Regions from separate parts of the Homo sapiens genome. Here all the other regions are linked to region 4. Evidence: promoter capture Hi-C in 16 types of primary human blood cells and fetal thymus (Javierre and others, 2016). All regions are on one chromosome and are shown on one strand. The core of a region is centred on a gene start or on the middle of the fragment in contact, and the rest is flanking DNA. Distances in the headings are between cores, read along the strand shown. Region 1 overlaps SRP14-DT (SRP14 divergent transcript). Region 2 overlaps LOC105370787 (a long non-coding RNA gene). Region 3 has its middle 14 kb from the start of BAHD1. Region 4 holds the start of PAK6-AS1 (PAK6 antisense RNA 1).

Region 1 (3,554 bases), core at 864-3,363, 190 kb before region 4:
TCTTTTGTAAGGGCACTAATGCCCTTGTGCGGGCTCCACCCCCATGACCTAATCACCTCCCAAACAGCATCACCTCAGGGATGAAGATTTCAACATGTGAATTGTGGGGGACACAAGCATTCAGAACATAGCAGGTGGCATATGAAAGTGCAGACCACCATATCCAGCAAATACATATGCATTTCCAATAGTCAGGGGAAGAGACAGAGGGAGAGGTGGAGGAGGGTGGAGAAGAGGACAATCTTCTCTGAGGAGGTAACGTTTGGGCAGAATCCAATTCATAGATCTGGGAAGAAAAGTTCCAGCAAAGGGACAAGCAAGGGTCAAGATCCTCAGGGGAAGGAGAGGAGAGGGGCCTGCTCAAGACAGTGAGTGACCTTGGAGGAATTGGGACAGGGAAGGCAGTCAGCAAAGCTGGGAGTCGGGGGGGTGCTGGACCATGGGGAGCCTGGAAGGCCATGGCAGGGAGTTTGGGGTTTATCTTAAGAATAATGAGAAAAAGAAACTGGTCAGAAAAACCACATATTGCATTTTTCCATTTCTACAAAATATCCAAAATAGACAAACCCAGAGAGACAGAAAGCAGATTCGTGGTTGGCTGGGGCTGGGGAGATTGGGAGGAAATGGGGAGTGACTAATAATGGGTGCTGGGTTTCTTCTGAAGGATGATTACAATGTTCTAAAATTGATTGTGGTGATGGTTGCACAACCCTGCAAATATACAAAAAAAAAAAAAAGCCCATTGAATTGTATACTTTCAGTGGGTGAATTATATGATATGTGAATTACATCTCAATAAAGCTGATTTATTTATTTATTCATTTATTTATTTTGAGACAGGATCTTGTTCTGTCGCCTAGGCTGGAGTGCAGTGACGTGACACAATCACAGCTCACTGCAGCCTCGACCTCCCAGGCTCAAGTGATCCTCCTACCTCAGCCTCCTAAGTAACTGGGACTATAGGTGCATGCACCACCATACCCAGCTAATTTTTAAGGTGTTTTTTTTTTTTTTGTAGAGACAGGGGTCTCACTATATTGTCCAAGCTAGCCTCAAACTCCTAGGCTTGAGTGATCCTCCTGCCTTGGCCTCTCAAAGTGCTAGGATTATAAGCGTGAGCCACTATGCCCAGCCTTGTTATTTTTTAAAAAAGGATTTTAAAAAATTATAAAAAGGATAATAGGAAGCTGTTAGAGGGTGATTTAATCAGCAGTAACATTCTCACTCAGGCTGTTGTGGGAGAACAAACTGTAGGGAGGGGAGAGTGGGGGCAGGAGATGGTTGGGAAGCTAGTGCAGTCGGCCAGGCAAGGAGCAATAGTGACTTGGCCTGGGTGGGTCACTTTGTGATGAGGATTAATGAAAAGGCCAGACTGGGGTATTTTTTGAAGCTAGAGTTTGATAATTGGTTGTGAGGGGTGGGAGAGAGAGATGAATCCTGGCCATTTAACTGCAGTGAAAAGACTGGAGGAATAGTTGGACAAGCGGAGGGACGGGGCATACGAGTTCTGTTTTGAACATGACAGGCCTCCGAGGTGTCCACTAGGCAGACGGGATGTCAGGGCAGGGTTACCACCATGTAGATGGTCACTGCTAAGAGCTGGGCACTCCTCCAAACACATACATTAAATCATTTAGTCTTCTCAGTAACCTATGAGGCGAGAGCTGTAGCTATCCCTGTCCATAGGGGGCGTATCCTGTGTGCCATTTCAGATGCCCGCGGCCTCACCTCTTGTTCCAGCCATTGCCCCAGTGACCAGTTTTGCACAGGTCTTGACCAGTGCCGTGTAAATGTCGCCTGGCAGGGCCTCTCCACATGCCTCTCGCCCAACACCATGATGGGGGGACACCCATGGAACCTGCTTGGCATTAACACATGAGCCGCCCAGAAGTGAAGGGGAGCTAACATTCCATGGGATGACTCGAGAGGAGCCAATGGATAACTGTCCCCCTTCTTCCAGTGAGTTCTGAAGTACGTTTCATAAAGCTTCACAGAAAGACTGAGTGGTGTTCACTCAGAGAGATGTTAACACACTCCCATATTGACTCCCCCCTTTCTCTGTTTCATTCCTCCTCCCCCTCACCCCTGCTCCCTGGGATCATGTTCCCAAATAAACTACTCATGCTTAAGCCTTTGTCTCAGGCCCCATGTAAGATCTGATCTTACATGGAGAATTTAACAGCAACAACATCACACCAGGGGCATGCTCACCAGGGGCAGAGCAGGGGTTCACACCCCGGCAAGCTTCTCTACTCGCTTCCATGTTGCCTCTCAAAGATCCCAACCTCTAGAGGACATTTAAAGGCACAGGCCTAGATGGAATCTAACCATCTAACCGGGAGAGACTGTAAATAAGAAAAAAGTCCCCACACCATGCTCACATTTAGAGATCAAGAAGAGGAGGAGCCAGCGAAGGAGCCAGAGAAAGAGCTGCCATCCGGGTAGGAGGAAGCCAGACCAGTGTGGAGTCCTGGACTCCAAAGAAAGACAGCGTTGCAAGGAGGAGCGAGTGCCCTACTGTGCAAACGCTGCTGAGAAATTGAGGAGGTGAGACCAGGAGACAGACCTTTTGGATGCGCCAGTAGGAGGTCACTGGTGACTTGGACAAGGGCAGTTTCAATGGAGTGACAGAAACAAAAACTTGGCTGGTGTAGGCTAAGAGGGAATGGAGGTGAAGATTCGGAGAAGTAGCCAGCAGGGACAACCACTTCAAGGAGGGGTGCGTAAAAGGGAGGAGGAAGTGGAGCAGAAGCTGAAGAGGGTGTAGGGTCAAGGAAGAGTTTGTTTTGAAAGTGAGAGAGATCATAGCGCAGTTATGTGCCGAAGGGAATGGTCTGGCAGAGAGAAGGAGCTGGATAGTGCAGGAGGGAGAAAGGTGATTTCAGGCAGTCTTGAGTAAGTGAAGGGATATGGTGCACAAAATGAAGGGATTGGCCAGGGATGCAAGAGGAGGCCATCCCTCCATCTGTCCATCCATCTATCCATCTGTCCATCTGTCTGTCCATCCATCCGTCTGTCCGTCCGTCCGTCTGTCCACCCATCCATCCATCCATCCATCTGTCCGTCTGTCCATCTATCCTTCCGTCCATCCATCCATCCATCCATCTATCCATGCATGCATCCATTGTGAGGAAGAAAGGTAGCAGCGGGCATAGATGCAGGCACCTTGGGAGATCTGATGGTGAGAGGCACGTACGTTCCAGCAGATGACATTTAGTTTCTCAGCAAAATAAGAAGCAAGATCTTTAACTAACAGCGAGAAACTAAGGGAAGGTGTTGAGGGTTGGAGAAGATGTGAAACACTTATCTGGAGAGTGGCGCAGTGAATTTAGTAGAGAAATATAGTAAGATTACTGGGCAAGCTGAGCGCCCACTTGAAGTTTGTGGTCAGAAGCGTCAAGTGCGGCTATTCAGTATGACTGTGAGTTTCCCCGGCAATGCTCAGCTACTCAGTGCAGGTGCAGGGTGTTGGGTTTAAGCAGGGTGGAGGCTGTGTCAGGAGATTCCAAATGAAGGGAAAAGAGCAAGAAAGGAGAGGGCTTCCACAAATGGGT
Region 2 (3,212 bases), core at 374-2,873, 170 kb before region 4:
AGGGAGGGAGGGAGGGAGGGATGGAGGGAAGGAAGGAAGGAAGGAAGGAAGGAAGGAAGGAAGGAAGGAAGGAAAGAAGGAAGGAAGGAGAAAGAAGGAAAAAGAAAGTCCCTTTTCACTCGTAAAATTAGCAAAATAAAAATGTTTCAGGCTGGCCATGTTGGCTCACAGCTGTATTCCCAGCACTAGATGGAAACGTGGTGATTTAGGATCCAGGTTCTGTTTAGCTCAATAAGCTAGACGTCCTCCCCTGAGGAGGGAAGACGGCTTGAACCCAAGAGGTCGAAGCTGCCGTGAGCTATGATTGTGCCATTGCAGCCTGGGCAACAGAGTGAGACCTGTCTCAAAAAAAAAACAAAAAAAGTTTCAAATGATAATACAGTTGACCCTTGAACAAGGGTTTGAACTGCGTGAGTCCACTTATGTGCATGCTTTTTTTTGTTGTTTTTTTTTTTTTTTTTTTTTTTTTGGTTTTTTTGTTTTTTGAGACAGGGTCTCACTCTGTCACCCAGGCTGGAATTCAGTGGCACGATCATGGCTCACTGCAGCCTCAACCTCCCTGGGCTCAGGTGATTTCCCACCTCAGCCTCCCGAGTAGCTGGGACTACAGGCACGTGCCACCATGCCCAGCTAATTTTTATATATTTTTTGTAGACACAAGGTTTCACCATGTTGCCCAGGCTAGTCTCAAACTCCTGGGCTCGAGGAATCCTCCTGCCTTGGCCTCCCAAAATGCTGGGATTACAGTCATGAGCCATGGTGCTCAGCCCAGATTTTTTTCAATAAAAGTTACACCAGGTGTGCCTGCCTCTCCTGCCTCCCGTGCCTCCCCTTCTACGAACTCCTTCATCTCTACTGCCTCTGCCACTCCTAAGACAGCAAGACCTACCCCTCTCTTCCTCCTCCTCAGCCTATTCAATGTGAAGATGATGAGAATGAAGATTTTGATGACGATCCACTTCCACATAATGAATACTAAATATATGTTTTCTTCCTTATGATTTTCTTAATAACATCTTCTTTGCTCTAGTTTATTGTAAGAACACAGAATATAATACATATAACACACACAATATGTGTGAATCGACTATGTTATCACTACGGCTTTTGTCAACAGTAAGCTATTAGTAGTTAAGTTTTGGAGGAGTCAAAAGTTATATATATGAATTTTCAACTAATGGGGGTGGGGGTGGTCAGTGCCCCTAATCCCAACATTGTTCAAGGGTCGACTGTACTGTATTCAATTTTGGTGACCTTGTGTTAGGTGGGACTCTCATATACTGTAAACAAAAGTGTAAAATGATAAAAACTTTCTGGAAGACAATTTAGGGACAGGTATCAAAGGCTTTTGAGAAATTCATACCCTTGTATCCAGAGATGGTTAGCAGTCCACTTATCATGCTTCCTTCCATAGTGTGCAGGTGATGCAGGGAAGTGGCTGCCCAGACAGGGACCATATTCCTCAGTTCTCCTTGCCGTAGGTGTGGCACCATGCCACCAGCCCTTGCTAATGAAAAATGAATGGAGGCAGTGTGTGTTGCTTCCAAGCTGACACGGTAAAGATGTGCCTCCTCCACCCTCTCTTTCTCTGTGTATAGTGGCTTTTCAAGGTACACGCTGAAGACAGCAGAGTGACAAGCTAGATGGAACCTGGATCCTAAATCACCATGTTAAAGGCCACCCACCAAATACTCAACATTGAACAGCTCTGTGAGTGAGAAATAAACTTTTATTGTGTGAAGTCTTTGAGGTTTGGGGCCTTATGTATTATAGCAATTTGTGTTGCTTACTGTGACCCAGAAATTGCACTTCTAGGAATGTTTCCTAAAGAAATAATCCAAGATTCAAAGACTGATAGAATCTGAGAACAATGGACAAAACCCGAAATGGCTATAATCACAATGAATGCTGCAAAGGGCTCTGAAACATGGGAATGGAAACTGAACAGCAGAGGACAGAAAATAAATTACAAAATTGCTCAGTAGTACAAATACAGTATTTGTGATGGGAATTAAGAACAATAGTTGAAAAGAAAATAAAAACCTGATCAGCAAGCCTGGTGTTTAATAAGTGTATACACTGACCCATTTGCACAAACATTTTGGAATAGATTGGTGAATGGATCCTGGCATGGAAATACTTTGTTAATTGTGATCAGAGGGTTATCAGCTCTTTTTCTCTAAGAAATTATTTGACATATGATTAAATTGCCAAGGTCTCTTCTACCTTTTATATATAGATTTTTCCAGCCCAAGTCCCCTAACATTATTGTTTTCATAACTCTGAAGGCTTTTCTTCTCCTCTTCATAGCTGATCCTTCTCACCATTCTCCCTGGCCTCAGGCAGTGATGGTAATATGGGTAACGTAAGTGCTACTACCAGAAATTATGTTAAAAATGTATTATGGGCTGGACATGGTGGCTCACACCTGTAATTCCAGCACTTTGGGAGGCCGAGGCGGGCAGATCACTTGAGGTCAGGAGTTCGAGACCAGCATGGCCAACATGGTAAAACCCCGTATCTTCTAAAAATACAGAAATTAGCCGGGCATGATAGCAGGCGCCTGTAATCCCAGCTACTTGGGGGGCTGAGGCAGGAGAATCACTTGAACCCAGGAAGCAGAAGTTGCAGTGAGCCAAGAATGCGCCACTGCACTCCAGCCTGGGTGACAGAGCAAGACCCCATCTCAAAAAAATATACATATGTGTGTATGTATATGTGTATGTATATATATATATATATTTTTAAATATGTTTATACTTTCAAATTACTTTCACATATATTGCCACTATTTTGGATAATTGTAATCTCTATGTCAAATAGCATCTTTCAGACTGGTGAGTCATATATATACCACAGTTGATTTTCAAGGTTTTATCTTTCAGTTTTTGAAATAGTAATCTCTAATATGGACACAAAATGTAAAGAGAAAAAAAATTGTTCCTCTTTGACTACTATATTATTCAGGATAGGCCAGGGTATGCTGCAGTAATAAAGCAACCCCCAAATTTCAGTGGACACAAAAAAACATTGACTTCTCTCTCTGCTGCATGTTCATTCCAGGTTGGCAGGGACATGGTTCCACATAGTCACTTAAGGACACAGGATGAAAAAGGCTATTTCATTTTGTAGTTGTGCTATTGGAACAAGGGGCCTCTTCAATCACTGGAACAAGGAAAGAGGAAAGTAAAGAAGGGCACGTGGGTATTTTC
Region 3 (3,236 bases), core at 488-2,987, 170 kb after region 4:
TCATACTATATATATATATATATATATATATATTCTTCCATATCTTGCTTTTTGGCTCATCATTGTATAGTTTTTGTTTTCTTGTTTTCTTGGTTTTTTTGTTTGTTTGTTTTTCATTTTGTTTTGAAACAGGGTCTCACTCTGTTCATGATCACAGCTCACTACAGCCTCAACCTTTTGGGCTCAAGCCATCTTCCTGCCTGGGCCTCCTAGGTAACTGGGATTACAGGGATTTGCCATAAAGCTCAGCTAATTTTTTTGTATTTTTTGTAGAGATGGGGCTTCATCATGTCGCCCAGGCTGGTCTCAGACTCCTGGGCTTAAGAGATCTGCCTGCCTCAGCCTCCCAAAGTGGCCTCCATGCTCAGCTCTTTTAAATTTTTTATTGTTTTTGAGACAGGGCCTCACTTTGTCACCCAGGCTGGAGTGCAGCGGCGCAGTCATGACTAACTGCAGCCTTGACCTCCCGGGCTCAAGTGATTCTCCCACTTCAGTCTCTTCAGTAGCTGGGATTAAAGGCCCAGTCCGGCTATTTTTTTTTTTTTTTCTTAAATGTTATAGAGACAGGGTCTCACTATGTTGCCCAGGCTGGTCTCCTGAGCTCAAGCCATCCTTCTGCTTCAGCCTCCCAAAGTGCTGGGATTACAAGTGTGAGCCACGGTGCCCAGCCTCATTCATGTTAATGAGCAGGACTGTAATCTCTTCAATTTTTTTTCTTGTGTAGTATTCCATAATGTGGAAATACAACAATTTAATTGTCCATTCTACTGTCGATGGACATTTGGGCTGTTTCCAGTTTGGGGCTATTCTAAAACATTCCTGGCCAGACGCGGTGGCTTATACCTGTAATCCCAGCACTTTGGGAGGCCGAGGCGGGTGGATCACCTGAGGTCAGGAGTTTGAAACAAGCCTGGCCAACATGGTGAAACCCTATCTCTACTAAAAATACAAAAATTAGCCGGGTGTGGTGGTGGATGCCTGTAATCCCAGCTACTCTAGAGGCTGAGGCACAAGAATAGCTAGAACCTGGGAGGCAGAGGTTGCAGTGAGCCGAGATCACACCATTGCACTCCAGCCTGGGCAACAGAGCGATACACTGTCTCAAAAAAAAAAAAAGAAAAGAAAAAACCATTCCTGTGGGTATCTTCTGATACAGATGTGCAAGTGTTCCTCAAGTCATAGTCCCAGGAATATAATTTATCTGTTGTAGGCTATGCACCTGATCAACCTTACTAGATAATTCAAAACTGTTTTCCAAAGTAGTTGTGGGCCTATTAGAATGATGCCACCAGAGGTGACTTGGGGCAAAAGTTGAATGCCAGCCCCAGGGCTAACCCCATGAGCTTATTTTCAGCAAGGGAGAGAAATCAGATGGCAAAAGTGTGCATCTGTGCATCGCTGCTTCCCCAGCCAGGCCCATAAACCACATGTTGAACAAACCTTTATAGGCAAGCTACTAAGACCCATGCACTGGGCGACGGGCTGGGGAGATGGTAATGATTTAGCACAGACCAGCCTCAGAGAGCAACAATTACGTTTCCATTTACCCTGCCAGGCAGCCGGATGCTCCAGTTTTGCCCTGGAAGACACGAGAGAGTAAGGGCTGGATAGATAAGTGGGAATTTTCTTGAAGAAAAAAAGGTATTCCAGGCCCAGGAATATCTCAGCACAGGCAGTACCTCCGCTCCTCAAAGGTGGCCAGTGGATCAGTGGCGGAAGTACAGAGGGCTGCCCTTGCTGGCAGAAGAAGGAAGGAAGGAAGCAAGAAGACTAGGGCTACGCTCGCACTGGCAGAGAGAGACACAGCTCCAGATCCAGATCCATTCAGACACAGCTTGTGCCTTGTGCCCGTCCAGGAGCAAACATGGGTGAGCATGCACATGGACATGCATACGTCTGCACACACTTTCAGAGAGGCTGTCAGACACGCTGCAGGAGCAGAGGCAAGGAGCGTGAACACGCAGCTGCTTGTGGGAGATAAGCCCAGCGCTGGGGGCTGCCTGCCTGGCCTGCCTTGAGAGTCCCCTTGCACATCTGCCTGGGTTCCCAAGAGGCAACCTCTACAAAGACATGTGTTTTCAGGACAACCTGCCCCCTCCCGCAAAGTCTTTCTATTTACAGGAATAGAGTAGCAAAATCCCTTAGTTCATACTTGAGTCTTGTCTGATGCTGCAGGCTGGCCAGGGCTGGGCATACAGTGGGTCTCTTTACTTGTTGAAGTAGAATAGTTAAATGAAATTTACTATAAGATAAATTAAGATAACTTTACTATAAGATATATTAAGATTTAAAATAGGGGGAAAGAGGAACCTGAAATGAGAAAAGGGTAGTGAAGGAAGACTTGATGTCCTTCATAACTGGCCTGCATCCTGCCCAGCCCCTCCTTTCTTTCCAGAAGCCCACCAGTGGCCCAGAGTGGAAGGGTGGGAGTCAGACCAGTCCAAGGTTGCTAATTAAGACTGGACTGCCAGGCACGGTGGCTCATGCCTGTAATCCCAGCACTTTGGGAGGCTGAGGCGGGCAGATCACCTGAGGTCAGAAGTTTGAGACCAGCCTGGCCAACATGGTGAAACCCCGTCTTTACTAAAAATAAAAAAATTGGCTGGGTGTGGTGGCACGCACCTGTAATGCCAGCTACTCAGGAGGCTGAGGCAGGAGAATTGCTTGAACCTGGGAGACGGAGGTTGCAGTGAGCCGAGATTTGGCCACTGCACTCCAGCCTGGGTGACAGAGTGAGACTCCGTGTCAAAAAAAAAAAAAAAAAGACTGGACTGTTTGTGGGTTTTATATGACTGCTGCTTGAGACTGCTTGAGAGAGCTGAGATCTGCTCTCCCTTCCTAAGACTGCTTCCAAGGCCCGGAGCTGGCAGCAGTTCAGAATCACCACCTAGATATTGAGATCCAGCCAGTTCCAGGTCCTCTTGTACCTCTTCCCAGCCCCTCTCTCCCAGGTACCCCGGGCAAAGTATACTCTACGGTCCTTTGAGGCTGGAGAAGCAGGTGGTTGTGAAATAGGCTGGCCTTTGGGACCTCCCTCTCCCCTGGTACCCTCCCTCCCTAGGAGGCTGCTTGGCTCCAGAGTGAAGGAGCAAGTGGGGGCCCTCCATAGTCTTCTCCTTCCATGGCCAAGCCGCCCAGGTGCTTGGAACCTGGCCACACACATCCAGGTGCCCCATTCACTGGCCCTCCAGGCTGTCAGAGACCTTTGTATTGCAGTTTTTCTGCCCTCCCACCTG
Region 4 (3,161 bases), core at 560-3,059:
GGAGGAGGCGACAGAGTAAGGGGAGGAGAACAGAAACTAAATATAAATATGTGTTGGGGATGTTGGGGATGGCAGCAGGGTATGGTTAGCTGGCTGGCTCCCACACCACTGTCCCACAGCACAGAGGGCCAGCATCTGCACCTGGCACCATGCTTTCCCTAGGAAAGCCGAGGGCATTGGGCTTGTGGTGCAGCCACACAGGGTACAGACCTGTTTGGGACTGTCAGGTTCCCACGGGTTGCCTGAGCTCTATTAGGTGGGCGCCTTAGAGTAAATTGTGTGAAACCAATACAGCCTATAATGCAAAAGATTGAGCCGTGAGTAGATTGATGCGTCTAAAGAATCAGTGAACAAAAATAAGTGGCCATAGTGACCTCAGTTAATCATTGAAGTCTGAGGTGCCCAACAATGATTTTTAAAATCCCTGCACTGTCCTTGGTCCCCGCTCTGTGACACTGGCAGTCACCCAGCCACCACTTGACGGCAGCCATTTGGAGTCCACATGTACTGAGTTTCCAAGCCAGAACTTCCTCAGCACTCAGCCAGAACACAGCCTTTCTCTGGGGGCCCAAGACAAGGAGAGCAAAGGTCTTCTCACTTCTTTATCTGGGGAAGAGATGAGTGATTCCTGTCCCTTCCCCCAGTATAGAAAACACCCTGTACCCCAAAAGAAACATGGCACAGGGGCAGCCAGGAGTGAGCCCCTTGGAATGGCCATTCTGATCTTAGGCAGGGACTGCTGAGGACAAGCAGAGGATGCCGACTCTGGGACAAAATCACAGGCGGAGGGGCTCCGAAACAGGCCCTAGCCGCTCTGGGGGTGCGGGTCTCCTGCCCTAGGACTCTCAGGCTAGAAAGTCCTCAGGACTCAGGACTGCGCAAGGGCTGACAAGGGAACTGGAATCCCTTAAATCCCGCTTTCCTGCCTGCGCAAGGGGCTACCCCAGCACAGTCTTGGGGCCCTGTCCACATGGGACAGATCATCCAAGGTGACAGGTTTTCCGACTCCCGCGTGGGCTCTCCAGGATGTGTGGGTGGGCACACGCGGCCCGCTCAGGTCCGGGAGAGTCGGCCCGCGGCTCTGGAGCGTGCATCTGCGATGCCAGTGAACGAGGTGATTACACACAGCCGGCGCTCAGCTGATTCTCCAGGTCGGGTCTCCGCGAGGCGGCCACTGGGCCGTGGAGCCGCAGGCAGGTCCCCGCGGCTGTGGCCAGGCCAGGGCCCGGAGGCGAAGGGCGGGCGGGAACTGGGGCCAAGCAGGTGGAGAGAAAGAGTTGAGCAGCACGGCGCCCCTCGGGCAGAGGGGCTCCTGGCCAAGGCCCCAGCGACACTTGGCAACTTCTCCCGCGCTCTGGGTTCGCCGCCGCGTCCTACCTGAGGCCACACCCTGAAATCAAAATCGCGGTCAGGTGAAGCCGGCGCTGCACCAACGTGTAAGCGCGGCCCCTCCTCGGCGTTCCCGCGCCGAGGTCCCTCCCGCGGAGGGCGGGCCCGGCTCCCACGACCTCTTCGAGCGTTCCTGGGCTTCCCGCTCCGCAGGTGGGTTCCCCGGCTGCCCCGGAGGTTCGCGGCGAGAGGACGGGCCTCCCAACACGCGCAGCCCCCTTCCTGGGTGCCCATGCCCCGAAGTTCGGGACCAGCCGGCGCCAGGCGAGGGGCCTTGGGCGCAGGCATCTGGAGCTCCGCGTCCCTGGAGCGGGACCTCCCTCCGCGGGCGCCCGCCCGGCGCGGGGCATTCGCGTCCCCGAGAGGGCGCAGCAGTGGGGCCTGCGAGCTGGGGCCGGGTGGCCGCGCCGGGTCGGAGTGTGGCTGGAGAGGGGCCGCCCCGGAAGCGGTGCTGCGCCCAACGTCCCCTTCTCCCCGTAAGCCCCGCAAGGAGCCTGCCGCCTCTTGCACCTGAGCCAGGAGTTCAGTCGGGAGGCGGGCGCGGAGCGGTTCCCAGCGCCTGGACGTCAGCCAGTCGCAACACCCGCGGGAACACTTGCTACATTTGCCATAATGCATTTCTGATCTGTTTCCGCGCAGGCCTGCGGAGGACTGGCCCAGCAAGGTCCCAGGTCTTCCCTCTCCTCAGCGCCTAAGAGAGAGGCCCAGTGCGGGTGAGGAGTCGCGAGGAAGAGGCGGAAGGCGCCGGAAGGTGAGTGAGCGAGCGGCCCCCGGCCCTAGAGCCTTCTGCACCCATTTTGAAGAGCAGGCAGGGAGGGACAGTGGGCAGGCAGGTGGCCCTCCTGGGCTGGCTCCTTCCTGGTACTGCTAGGCAGCGGAGGTGGTCCCTTCCAGGTGCCGTCTCTCGATCCTTAGTGGGTGCATGTTAAGTCACTTACACCACTTTGCCCCATGGCCCCACGGTAGGCTGGTAGACGTCAAGACCTCAAATGGCCCGCCCTGCCCCCGGGCCCATCTTCAGGTCTGATGCCTGTCCTGGGTGAGGGTGTCACCGCGGCAGAGTGCAGGGAATTCATGCCGGGGAAGAGGTTCCCAAACAGGAAGGGTGGTGGCAGGCCCAGTGGCTGTGCAGGGCAGGGTGGGAGGCAGCCGTGGGAGACTCCCGCAGGAGTTACAGGTGAAGCTGCCGCTCCACACATCCCAGCCCACCGCTCATTCCCCAGATCTCCAGACCTGCTCAGGTGGCATCCGATCTGGAGTGTAGGTGCTGCTGGGAGCACTGGAGGCTAAGCCATGAAGAGCTCCCAGGGTGTAGGTTGCGTTTTCTGTATCTTGCCCCATTCTGGTGGTTTTTTGGGGGCTTTTCTGACTTGTTTTTCTGGGTGAAGGGGGCAGAGGGGCTCAGGTCTGTGTCCATGCTCGTTTTTGGTGGCCGGTGTGGCATAGGTTGCCGCATTGGATAAGAAAACGCCTGGTTCCATGCAAGGTGAGGTTCAGCCTGCAGTGCCATGAATTCTCCTCCATAGTATATAGGACAGTGGCCGAAGACACATTTGGAACCGAAGAGAGTGGGGTTTGAATCTATCCAGACTTTGCCTTTGACTCCTTAGACAAGTTGCTTCACTTCTCTACAAACTTATAAATGGCCTCATCTGTAAAATGGGAATGCGAATGCCTTCCTCCTCATTAGGCGGTTGTGGGGAGTAACTGCCTCATCAGCCTCCAGCTGCTATGTTGGGAAGGGCTAAGCCACTCCAAGTTCTCCCATCCTG

What was found. The method cuts DNA at HindIII sites, captures the fragments that hold promoters and counts their contacts. A CHiCAGO score of 5 or more calls a contact.
Region 1: a fragment that was not itself captured here is called in contact with the fragment with the promoter of PAK6-AS1 in region 4 in 9 of 17 cell types (naive CD4 T cells, total B cells, naive B cells and 6 more); the score reaches 8.2 in naive CD4 T cells.
Region 2: a fragment that was not itself captured here is called in contact with the fragment with the promoter of PAK6-AS1 in region 4 in 2 of 17 cell types (naive CD8 T cells and activated CD4 T cells); the score reaches 5.3 in naive CD8 T cells.
Region 3: a fragment that was not itself captured here is called in contact with the fragment with the promoter of PAK6-AS1 in region 4 in 1 of 17 cell types (neutrophils); the score reaches 5.6 in neutrophils.

Annotation. Positions count from the first base shown.
Region 1 is chr15:40,058,293-40,061,846 of GRCh38, forward strand. All of the region lies in intron 2 of SRP14-DT (SRP14 divergent transcript), which reads left to right. Among named protein-coding and RNA genes, the nearest start is that of SRP14-DT, 21 kb to the left of the region's middle. RefSeq lists an enhancer at 3,289-3,348. The HindIII fragment of the contact is 258 bases long and covers 1,985-2,242 here.
Region 2 is chr15:40,077,295-40,080,506 of GRCh38, forward strand. It overlaps LOC105370787 (a long non-coding RNA gene), which reads right to left. Exons shown (of 3, transcript NR_188231.1): 2 at 1,364-1,507. Among named protein-coding and RNA genes, the nearest start is that of BMF, 30 kb to the right of the region's middle. RefSeq lists an enhancer at 1-268. The HindIII fragment of the contact is 5,257 bases long and covers 1-3,212 here.
Region 3 is chr15:40,425,435-40,428,670 of GRCh38, forward strand. It overlaps a transcript of IVD not described here. Among named protein-coding and RNA genes, the nearest start is that of BAHD1, 14 kb to the right of the region's middle. The HindIII fragment of the contact is 7,750 bases long and covers 1-3,236 here.
Region 4 is chr15:40,251,150-40,254,310 of GRCh38, forward strand. It overlaps PAK6-AS1 (PAK6 antisense RNA 1), which reads right to left and starts at 1,810. Exons shown (of 2, transcript NR_168270.1): 1 at 1,509-1,810; 2 at 1-1,390. BUB1B-PAK6 (BUB1B-PAK6 readthrough) reads left to right here. Exons shown (of 10, transcript NM_001128629.3): 2 at 2,029-2,140. PAK6 (p21 (RAC1) activated kinase 6) reads left to right here. Exons shown (of 11, transcript NM_001395430.1): 3 at 2,029-2,140. RefSeq lists a silencer at 1,792-1,881. The HindIII fragment of the contact is 18,506 bases long and covers 1-3,161 here.